Linked DNA regions of Homo sapiens: region 2 is linked to region 1. Evidence: promoter capture Hi-C in human tissues and cell types (Jung and others, 2019). All regions are on one chromosome and are shown on one strand. The core of a region is centred on a gene start or on the middle of the fragment in contact, and the rest is flanking DNA. Distances in the headings are between cores, read along the strand shown.

Evidence for each region. The method cuts DNA at HindIII sites, captures the fragments that hold promoters and counts their contacts. A contact is called where the count stands out against the background at its distance.
Region 2: a fragment that was not itself captured here is called in contact with the fragment with the promoter of BPIFA1 in region 1 in 3 of the 25 tissues and cell types used here (dorsolateral prefrontal cortex, mesendoderm cells and spleen).

What each region holds. Positions count from the first base shown.
Region 1 is chr20:33,232,261-33,237,631 of GRCh38, reverse strand. BPIFA1 (BPI fold containing family A member 1) reads right to left here and starts at 1,636. Exons shown (of 9, transcript NM_130852.3): 1 at 1,582-1,636. The HindIII fragment of the contact is 6,820 bases long and covers 1-5,371 here.
Region 2 is chr20:33,131,609-33,136,342 of GRCh38, reverse strand. No RefSeq gene overlaps it. Among named protein-coding and RNA genes, the nearest start is that of BPIFA2, 34 kb to the left of the region's middle. The HindIII fragment of the contact is 6,794 bases long and covers 1-4,734 here.

The DNA.
Region 1 (5,371 bases), core at 387-2,886:
CTGACACCTGGGGGGTGGGGTTGTTTGCTCCCCAGAACACCAGGGGGTCACTAGTAATAGCTAATACTGCTGAACAATTTCTCTTTGCCAGGCAACAGGCTGACCACTTTACACAATTTCATCTTCATCACAACCCTAAGACATGGGCACCTGTTACCTGCATTGCACAGGTGAGGACCACTGATCAGGGGCCTAAAAAGGAGACAGCCCCACTCCACCACATTCCAAAGAAGAGGGTTTTTTTCCTTCTTGCCAAGAATCCCAGCCTCACCTCACTCCATCTTGCCCACAGTTCACTTGTCTGATTTTCCAGTAGGAGAAACCAAGGCTCACAGAGGTCAAGTGAGTTTGCAGTTGGGAGTTTCAAATATACTCCCATCCCTTCTTGAAACCCACTTGTGTACTACCGAGTGTGGGTAACTTTCCCCAAGGTCACAAGTACACGGTGGACAGAGGATTAGAAGCTAGAGCCAGGTGAACCCTCGGTTAAATTAAGTAACCATCAGATTTATTCTCCAATCGGGCTTGCTTCAATGGTTTGAATCATTGCTGCTCTTCAGACAAAGCAAATGAGAAGGGTTAAACGTGCAAGTGCTGAAGAATTGAACTGTTTTAGATCATCCCTGTTCAGTCCTTTGGCCTGAGCTCAGGCCATGATGGTTGGTGGATGCCCTTGAAAGTCACACAATACAGGGGTCGCATGGCCACAGCCACCATCTCATGTAGACCTTTGTTGGGGAATTCCTGGGGCCATCAAAGTCTTCATTGCATGAGAAGAACCAGGAGACCAAAGAGGGGTAGTGACTTTCCCAAGGTCATACAATAAATTGATGGCAGAGCTGTGGTTGAAGGCAGGTCTCCCAACCCTCCCCTCACCCAACACACAAACATGCATTCTATCATTTTGACACCTTTCTCTTCTCCTTCAAGCTGCCCTGGATGGAATTCCGGTCAACCCCTGAGGTTTGGCTTGCAGACCTCTCACAGGTCTATTTGGCAGCCAGCAGAGTTGTCCAGAGCCAGCACTAGTACCTACAATTTGGAGACAACTGGTGACTTTGTGCAAAATTCCATCTATTGGCTGACTCAGCTAAAGCTCCATCCTTGTGGTGGAAGGCTGGAAATGAAAGGTCTTTGGTCCAAAGAGCCAGTTGTGCCCTTCTTAGGGAGGTAACTTTGACCACAGCCTCTGAATCTCTTTTGGGCAACAGACCCTTTATGAATCCAATGGAAGCTAAAGATCCTAGTCTCAGAAAAAATGCATCAAAATGTATAAAATTGGGTGAAGAATTTTAGGAGGTTTTTGGATCATCTGTATCCACATTGGTAACCTCAAGCTAAAACTTATGCCTTAGAGGCTTTCATTTACGGCATTAATAGTGCCCATTTCTATATCAATGTTACTGGTCTCTTAGGACAGCAGAGCAAATGGCCATCCCCACATCCCTGACATTGGCCAGGTCTGTTTCTCTTGCACAGCCCCCAGTGAGTGATCAAGATCACTCACTGCCCCACAGGGCAGGAGCCTGAGATCCCTGCCGTTAAGGGTAGCAGAGGGGCCACAGAATGGATGGCTCTTACCTGGACTTCTTAGAGGTCTCAGCAGCTGTCCTGGTCTCCTCTCTCTCCCCCACTCACTTCTGCCGAGGAGTCAGCCTCTTTTATAGTATGGGGACGAGGAAGCATGTGTTGGGTGATGGGTTTCTAGATAATTGAGAATTCTGCAATCTGACAGTGTCTTTCAGGGCTCTCCAAAGTAAATAATTGCCAATCACATTAGCAGGTGAGACAGTTAAGCTATTTGGTCAACAAGATAAACAGAGAAAAACCTGAGATGGGATGTTACTCAAGACTTTATGGTTTCCTGAGCGGAGCCAAGGTTGGGGACCCACGCTCCCAAGGTAGCTTGGAGCATTGAAAGGAGCAGCCAGACAGAGCCCAGGAAGGGACCTCAGTCTCATCTCTTGGCCCCTTTCCTCTCCTGCTCTAATTTTTTTGCTCCAGTTGGAGGATTCTTTCTCCTAAAATGTCAAAAGAGTCACACTGCATCCTACATCTGGGGTGCGTCTCCATTCCAGGGCAAGGGTCTCCTGTTTTCAGAGCCCCTATTGCACGTCAGGAGCTCTCTGTCCTCACAAGAACCCTGAGAGGGAGAGGTGACTCCTCCTCTTTTATAGAGGAGGAAACTGAGATCCAGTGGGGACAAGTGCTGAAAGACCCAGAGAGGATGCAGCAGAGTTAGAATGCAACTGACTGGAGAATGAAAACAACAAAAACAACGCCAACAGCAGACACTGGCCGAGCTCCTGCTGTATGCCTGGCCTGCCATGGTGTTCACAGGCAGCATCTCACAAAATCCTCACAACCCTGTACTCCTATTCTATAAGGGGGAAACTGAGGCTGAGTGTGAGGCAAGTTGTCCAGAGATGCAGTGCTTGCCTGGGGTGAGACATCCACATTCAGGTCCTTTCCCCGAATCACTGCACTGAGAGATGAAGGTGCCTCCCAACACTTGCTGGCCATTTTGATTTCCCCACCTGTGAACTTTACACTTTCATGCGTCCCTTTTTATTTTTTAAATTTTCACTTAATTTTTATTTTATTTTATTTTTTGAGACAGTCTTACTCTGTCGCCCAGGCTAGAGTGCAGTGGTGTGATCTCAGCTCATGACAACCTCCACCTCCCGGGTTCAAGTGATTCTCCTGCCTCAGCCTCCTGAGCAGCTGGGACTACAGGCGAGCGCCACCATGCCTGGCAAAGTTTTTGTATTTTTAGTAGAGATGGGGTTTCACCATGTTGGCCAGGCTGTCCTCGAACTCCTGACCTCAGGTGATCCACCTATCTCAGCCTCCCAAAGTGCTGGGATTACAGGCGTGAGCCACAGTGCCCCGCCGCTTCTCTTTTAGGTCCTGGAAAAGTCTTTCCAGGTTCCCAGGCCTGAGGGATCCTTTGGCATCCTGGTCTCTATCCTACCCTTTCTTCTACCTTTCCCTAAATGGAGTAATCAGGCATTTATTTATCCCCACCACTGGGGCCCTTGGAGTCTGTTCAGCAGATGAAAAAGTGAAGACACAGGAAGGCCAAGGTCCTGGACCAGTGAGCGCAGCTCTTACCCTGCAAAACCTAACACCTTATAAGCAAAAGTGGAGAGAGAAGGAATAAATGTGCTTTTATTAAGCACTGACTGCATGCCAGGTGCTCTCCATATTTGAACCTCATCTTCTTCAGGAGTGGTTGGTATTGTTGTCTCTCATACATTGGATGAGGAGGCTGAGGATCAGAAAGGGTGACTGCTTCCTGGGGACACACAGCGAGTGAGTGTTGGAGTCAATTGACCCTGCCACCCTCTGTGTCTGTCTGAGTCCCTGCTAATCAGTGGGCCACACTGCCTCCCTCACACTAGGCCTTCACTGGCCTGCTCCACTGCTCTCCAGAGTCTGGGTGGTGCCCCCAAGGGTTTGGGGCCATGGCTTTGAACTTAATTATCCATTCAAGGTACTTGCTGGACTCTGCCCACATCTTGTACATGGCAATCATCCTCACAGTGGTCCCATCGTATAACTCTTGTGGGTTGGGTCAGGTTGCTACTATCCTTGTGGGGAAACTGAGGCAGATAAGGCAAGGAATTAGTAGAGTTTGTGCAGCCAGTTAATGAAAGCTTACACCCTCTGGTTTGAGGCCGGGAGGCTGTGTCTGTATTGCAGCAGAAAGTGGGTGAATTTGGGCTCAAACAGCCCTGGTTCAAATCCTACGACCCTGGGCAAGTCAGTCCAGTTCCCTGAACTTCATTCAGTTTCCTCACCTGTAAAATGGGGAGCATAAAATCTGCCTCACAGGGCTATGGGGAGATGATGTCTGGGGAGCTGGTATGAATCACAGTTCATAAACTCAGGCGTCCACACATCTTTCTGATTTATCTATACTTTACCATTTCAAATGCCATTTTGCTCAGGAACAGAAATGTCCCAATTTCCCCCTGGGGTTTCATGTCTGTGCTAGGGGCTTTGTTTGTACCAAGGAGGCTGCCTGTCCCTATTTTTGGCTGGCAATATAGGAGACAGCCATGTGCCATCTGCCCCTAGATTGCAGAGACACTGTACTTCCCTCCTGGTGAAAGGTCCCTTTGGATTTAGCATTTACTTTCAACTCGTTTGTAAGACACAGAATTGTTCTGCTGTTCGCCAGTTCCTTGGGCCTGATACAGGACTGTGAGGGGCTGCCCAAGCCCTCCTGCCTGGATCCACCTAGACCCTCCCTTTACCCTTCTCTCCCTGGGGTCTCATGCCCTCTTCTGGCTCTGGGAGGGAGTGTGGACACAGACGCCCTCTGTCCCTGGATCCCATACATGTGCCTGGGATTCTGTTCCCTTCATCCCATGCTCAGGTCTGCCTGGGAGCAGCAAGGGACGGAGGCACCATCAGAACCCACCAGAACTATGCTCCTTCCAGTTCTCCTGGACCCTCACACTTCACCAACCCAACATAGGGCATTTTCTAGTTTTGTGGGCAGGAAGATTTGCTTCAACTTCATTGTGTGTATGCTGTTCTCAGACTCTCCTATGCCCTGAGTTTAACAAGTCAAAAGCCAAGACTATAAAAACAAAAAAACTTACAGTAAAATTGACTTCTTTTAGTGGTATGGTCCTTTGAGTCTTACCACATGTATAGTCAGCCACCATCATAATCAGGGTAAAGAACAGTTCCATCCCCCCAAAGGCACTCTCATGGGTCCCTTTACAGCCACACCCTGCCTTCATCTGCTGGCAACCACCTGTTTGTTCTCTGTCACTACCACTTTATCAAAAACCCAGGCTCTTGAAAGTCAAGAGCCTTGTTTCTGCTTCTGTTGAAACTGCCCTTCCTTGTGGCCACAGGGACTGCATGCTCCCTGCCCTGAACAGGGGAAAGGTCTCAGGGCACCAGGAAACAAGTGGAAGGACACACCACGAACATTTCAAGAGGTTTTCCCCACTCTGGTGATGTCAATACCCTCTCCATGTGTTTCTCAGAAACTGTAGGTGGTGCCTTTCCTTCCTGCTTCTCAGGTTGCAATTGTGTTTGGGAGCCTTTGCTCAGGTTGTTTTGTCAATCAAGAGATCCATTTCTGGCCGGGTGTGGTGGCTCACATCTGTAATCTCAGCACTTTGGGAGGCCCAGGCAGGTGGATCATTTGAGGTCGGGAGTTCAAGACCAGCCTGGCCAACATGGTGAAATCCCATCTCTACTAAAAATACAAAAATTAGCTGGGCATTAGTGGTGCGCACCTGTAAACCCAGCTACTTGGTAGGCTGAGGCAGGAGAACTGCTTGAGCCTGGGAGGCGGAGGTTGCAGTGAGCCAAGATCATGCCGCTGCATTCCAGTCTGGGTGAC
Region 2 (4,734 bases), core at 325-2,824, 100 kb after region 1:
GCTTGGGATTGGAGAACAGCAAGCTAGGGCAGATCTTGCCCATGTGGGGCATAAGGAGGGCAGACATGGAACGGGAAAATCTGAGCTCTCGCTTGAAGGATGCTGATGAAGCTCTGAATGTGTGGCCCTCATGCAGGGCGGTGACACATGCTAGAAAGAAAGGGTCCAGGCCTCAGGTTGCTGAGGGATGGAGGCTCCAGCAGGATCCCCTCAGGCCACCCTGCAGACGGAGTGGGGAGCCTTGGGCACAGCCAACGCACAGGCCAGGGGGAATTGTTTGCTGCCAGAGTGCACCCCAGCAGGGAGGGCAAGAGAGAGGAGAAGCCTGGGTTCCTGAACCAGATTTTTCCATTTTTTTTCTAATTTTTCATTAAAAATAGATGTAGGAGTTATCTGTGCAGTTTATTATATGGATATATTGCACATAACAAATGGTGCAATGGACCAGGTGTGGTGGCTCACGCCTGTAATCCCAGCACTTTGGGATGCCGAGGCAGGTGGATCACCTGAGGACAAGAGTTCGAGACAAATGGTGCAATGGTGCAGTTTAGGCTTCCAATGTACCCATCACCCTAATAGTGAACATTGTACCCAATAGGTAATTTTCCCCCCTCACTCCCCTTCCCCATTCCCCCCTTTTGGAGTCCTCAGTGTCTATTATTTCCCTCTCTATGCCCTTTTGTACCCATTCTGAACCGGGTTTAGTGTGATGTAGAAAAACAGATAAATTTGCTAGAAAGCTGACACAGGCAACAACATAGGGGGATCTCACAGACATGACATTGAACAAAAGAAGCCAGCTACAGAATCGCTCACACTGTATGGCTCTTTCTGTGAATTTCAGGAGCAGACAGTACTTGCCCACAGAGATAGAGGTCAGAAGAGGGGTCACCTCTGGGGGCAGGTACTGACTGCAGTGGGGCAAAAAGGGGCTCTTTCTGGGTATTGGGAAAGTCCTGTCCCTTGATCTGGGTGGTGGTTGCAAGGGTGCACACATAAGCAAAAACCTGTCTTTCTTACTGCATCTTTTACTGTATACAACTGAAACCTCCATTTAAAACACGTGGAATAGGCTGGGCAGGGTGGCTCACGCCTCTAATCCCAGCACTTTGGGAGGCCGAGGTGGGCAGATCACCTGAGGTTAGGAGTTCGAGACCAGGCTGGCCAACATATGGTGAAACCTCGTTTCTACTAAAAATGCAAAAATTAGCTGGGTGTGGTGGCACACATCTGTAGTCCCAGCTACTTGGGAAGCTGAGGCAGGAGAATGGCTTGAACCCAGGAGGCGGAGGTTGCCGTGAGCCGAGATGGCAACACTGCACTCCAGCCTGGGTGACAGAGCAAGACTCTGTCTCTCAAACAAACAAACAAACAAACAAACAAAAACATGGAATAAAGAAAAAAAGAAAGACTACAGTGGGAAGGAGGACACTCCTTGCCCCTTAAGGGCTGGGAGGTCGTATCAATTACCTTGATGACCCCGTCATGGTTTTTACACCATGTTTCATTGGCTTGAAGACATATCTTTTTCTCATTTTACTCTCTTGGAAATCAGAATGCATCTTACCATCAACGTGTTTAGGTAACAGTGTGTTTTTTTTCTTGCTAGTACATAGAAAAGAGTGGCGTGTTTTACAGCCAATGGCATTCTTTCCATGTCTGCTCTAGAACCCTACAGACAAAGTAGGCGGAAATTCTCTCTTCTCAGAAATTGGACAGAGAAATGGAACGACAACAACTATTGTTTGCAAACACTCAACTTACCCATCACCCCCGTGAATGGCTCCTCACGCGGCTTCCCCCCTGCAGAGTATGGGCATGAACTCGTTTCTGGAAGTGAGGGTGCTCCCTTCTCACCTGGGACCTGTGCACACAAAGCAGTTGTGCAAAGCAGGGACCCTGTTCTCTTCGGGGCTAATGGGGGAGCCCATAGAGTGATGACGACAACATTTTCTAAGCGCCAGGCCCTGTACACAGCACTCCTGCACCATCTCTTTGAGTCCTTATGTCCCTGCCCCCAGGTAGGAGCTTTTCTTAGTCATGTTAGACAGATTACAATTTTCTGCCGCTGATGAAATTATTATTATTATTATTTTGGAGATGGAGTCTCACACTGTTTTCTGGGCTGGAGTGCAGTGGAACAATCTCAGTTCACTGCAATCTCCACCTCCCAGATTCAAGCAATTCTCCTGCCTCAGCCTCCGGAGTATCTAGGACTACAGTCGCCCACCACCACACCCGTCCAATCTATGTTTTTAGTAGACACAGAGTTTCACCATGTTGTCCAGGCCGGTCTCGAACTCCTGACCTCAGGTGATCTGTCTGCCTCAGCCTCCCAGAGCGCTGGGATTACAGGCGTGAGTCACTGTGCCTAGCTGGAATAATTATTTTTGATTATCAGAGCAAGAAATTTTGTCCCCAAAATTAACGGCATTGTCTTAAAAAGGACCACAGACGAGCAAAATAAACACAAAACATCCATGAGCTGACATGGTTTGGGTCCCTGGCTGAGTGGGCTTTGGTTCTCCCTCAGGTCGGGCATCGGCTGTTTGACAGACATAATATACAAAAGACCGAGGGTGCCCATTTTGCAGATCTGGAAATTGAGGCCCTTGGGTTCCCTGGCAGGTCAGTGACAAAGCCAGGACTGGGACCCAGGGCTCCAACTCTTTCCTCCTCATCACCTGCGCATTCCCCAGGGCTCTGAGAGCAGGGAGGGCAGGGTCCTTACCTAGGATGTGGTTCCGGCCACCCAAGACCGGTGGGACTCCTGCATCTGCCTCCGGAGTAAGATCCAGGAGCAGAGGGAAGCTTAAGTTGCAGGTAGGCAGGCCAAGTGGGGGCCGGGGCCAGGGGTGGGCAGAGGCTTGAGAGGCCTGAGCAGGGCTCCTGGAGCACCAGTCACTCTGGCTGACACCAGGACGGAGGTGGGGAGGGCATCCAGGGCCCTGCCCTGGAACCCTGAGGGGAATGAGGCCATAAGTCATCTGGGCTGGCAACTTTGGGAGGAGTGTGACTTCCTGAAGCCACTGCGAGTCCATGTATGTTCTGGTGTGTGTCTGTGTCTGTGTGTGCTTTTGTGCAGGTGCCTGTGTGTGTCTGTGTGGACTGCATCTGTGCATGTAACTGTATGTGGCTTTGTGTGTGTGTACGTGTGTGCACTTGTCTGTATGTCTCTTGGGGGGCGGGTCTCTGTTCTGAGTGAATATCCACAATGCATGGGGAAGAGCCCACCCCTTTCCGCTGATTGCTCAAGCTGTCCTAAGCCCGGGGAAGCCAGCTCCGGACTCCAAGGCAGCTCCCTGGGGAGTCTCTCCGTGTTCTTGGAGAGAATCACTGTCTGGGGGAGCCCGCTGCCCTCCTGTGAGGGTCTCATCGTTCCTCAGAGAAATCTCAAAATTCCCATGAGAATGCACACATTCCTGAGAGGACAGCCCAAATTCCTGAGGAATGCCAGCCTTTCTTTATGAAATGTCCCTATTTCCAAAAGACCTTTTACTTGTTTCTGAAGGAATTCTAATGACGCTTCAGTGTTTCCTCAGAGCTATCATTGTCCATAAGAATGTCAATGTCTCTGAAGATACTGTACAAATCCTGCAGGAATTCTAGGGAATTGGCAATGTTCCCAAGGGATCCCGGTTTTCCTGAGGGAATCCTGGTGCTGGCTGACAGAAGTGTCACCATTTCTCTGGAAATGCCAGTCATTGCACTGGAATTCTCCCTCCCCACCAGGGGCACCCAGGGCCCTCGGAACATCCCAGGCCAGATCTGGAATCTGCACCGGGGCTTCAGGGCAGGTCTCAGCTCTGCCATTGGCCAGTCGTGGGACTGACTCTTCTCTGTCTCAGGTTCCCCCTTGGTGCTGGCCTTAGCACCTGCTCCCTGAGGGACAAGGAGAGCAACTTGCAACCTGTGAAGGGTGGTACCCATTGAAGGGGCTGTTGGTCTTTCTGTCACCATTCACAACCTCAGTGTGACTCTTCCTGAAACCCTCTTGGGGGTTTGAGGAACGTCAGAGCAGGAGGAGGCTGCAGCCCAGAGAGGCCGAGCCATGTCACACAGCACTGACCCCAGTGGGCCTCTCCTGATCCCTCCTGCCATCCCTCTCAGGTACCCTGGCTCTACCCAGTGCCCTCTGAGTGTCACTGGTATGGGAATGGGAGTCAGCCACAAGGTGGCTGGGGCACTGCCTGGGGCTGGCTGGCTGGCCTCCTGTCTGTCTGCAGCCTTTTCACCTGTTTCACACTTTACTCAGCAGGAGAAAGAAAAACGGCCCCACCAGGGTGGGGTGATGGCAGGCTTGAGGGACAGGACAGCAGGGCCAGGCTGAGTCGGGGAGAGAGTGCTCACGGCCAAGGAGCCAGGGCCTCCCATGCTTGAAGCTTGGTTTGCACCATCAGAAAAGCAGGCATCTGGGGGCTGGAGAGCTCCCTGTGGGAGGCCTGGCCAGAGGGTGGTCTGCTGGGGATGGGGCAGACCAGCCTGGCCAGCGCCTCCACCTCCAGGGAGCTCTTCCCTGGAGTTTGATGCAGAGTCCTGGTGGATGCTCCATTTCTCTGGCTGTTCATAGCCTTCTGTGATTTATGCCAGGCATATTTCTACAGCCTTTGGAGGAAACACCATACTTGATGGTCAGAGCAACCTCTATGTTTTGTTCAGAATTCCTTAAAACCATGTGCCCCTCACACCATCTTTATTGAAGCAGGACAGACATACATAAAGGGCCCATACCAT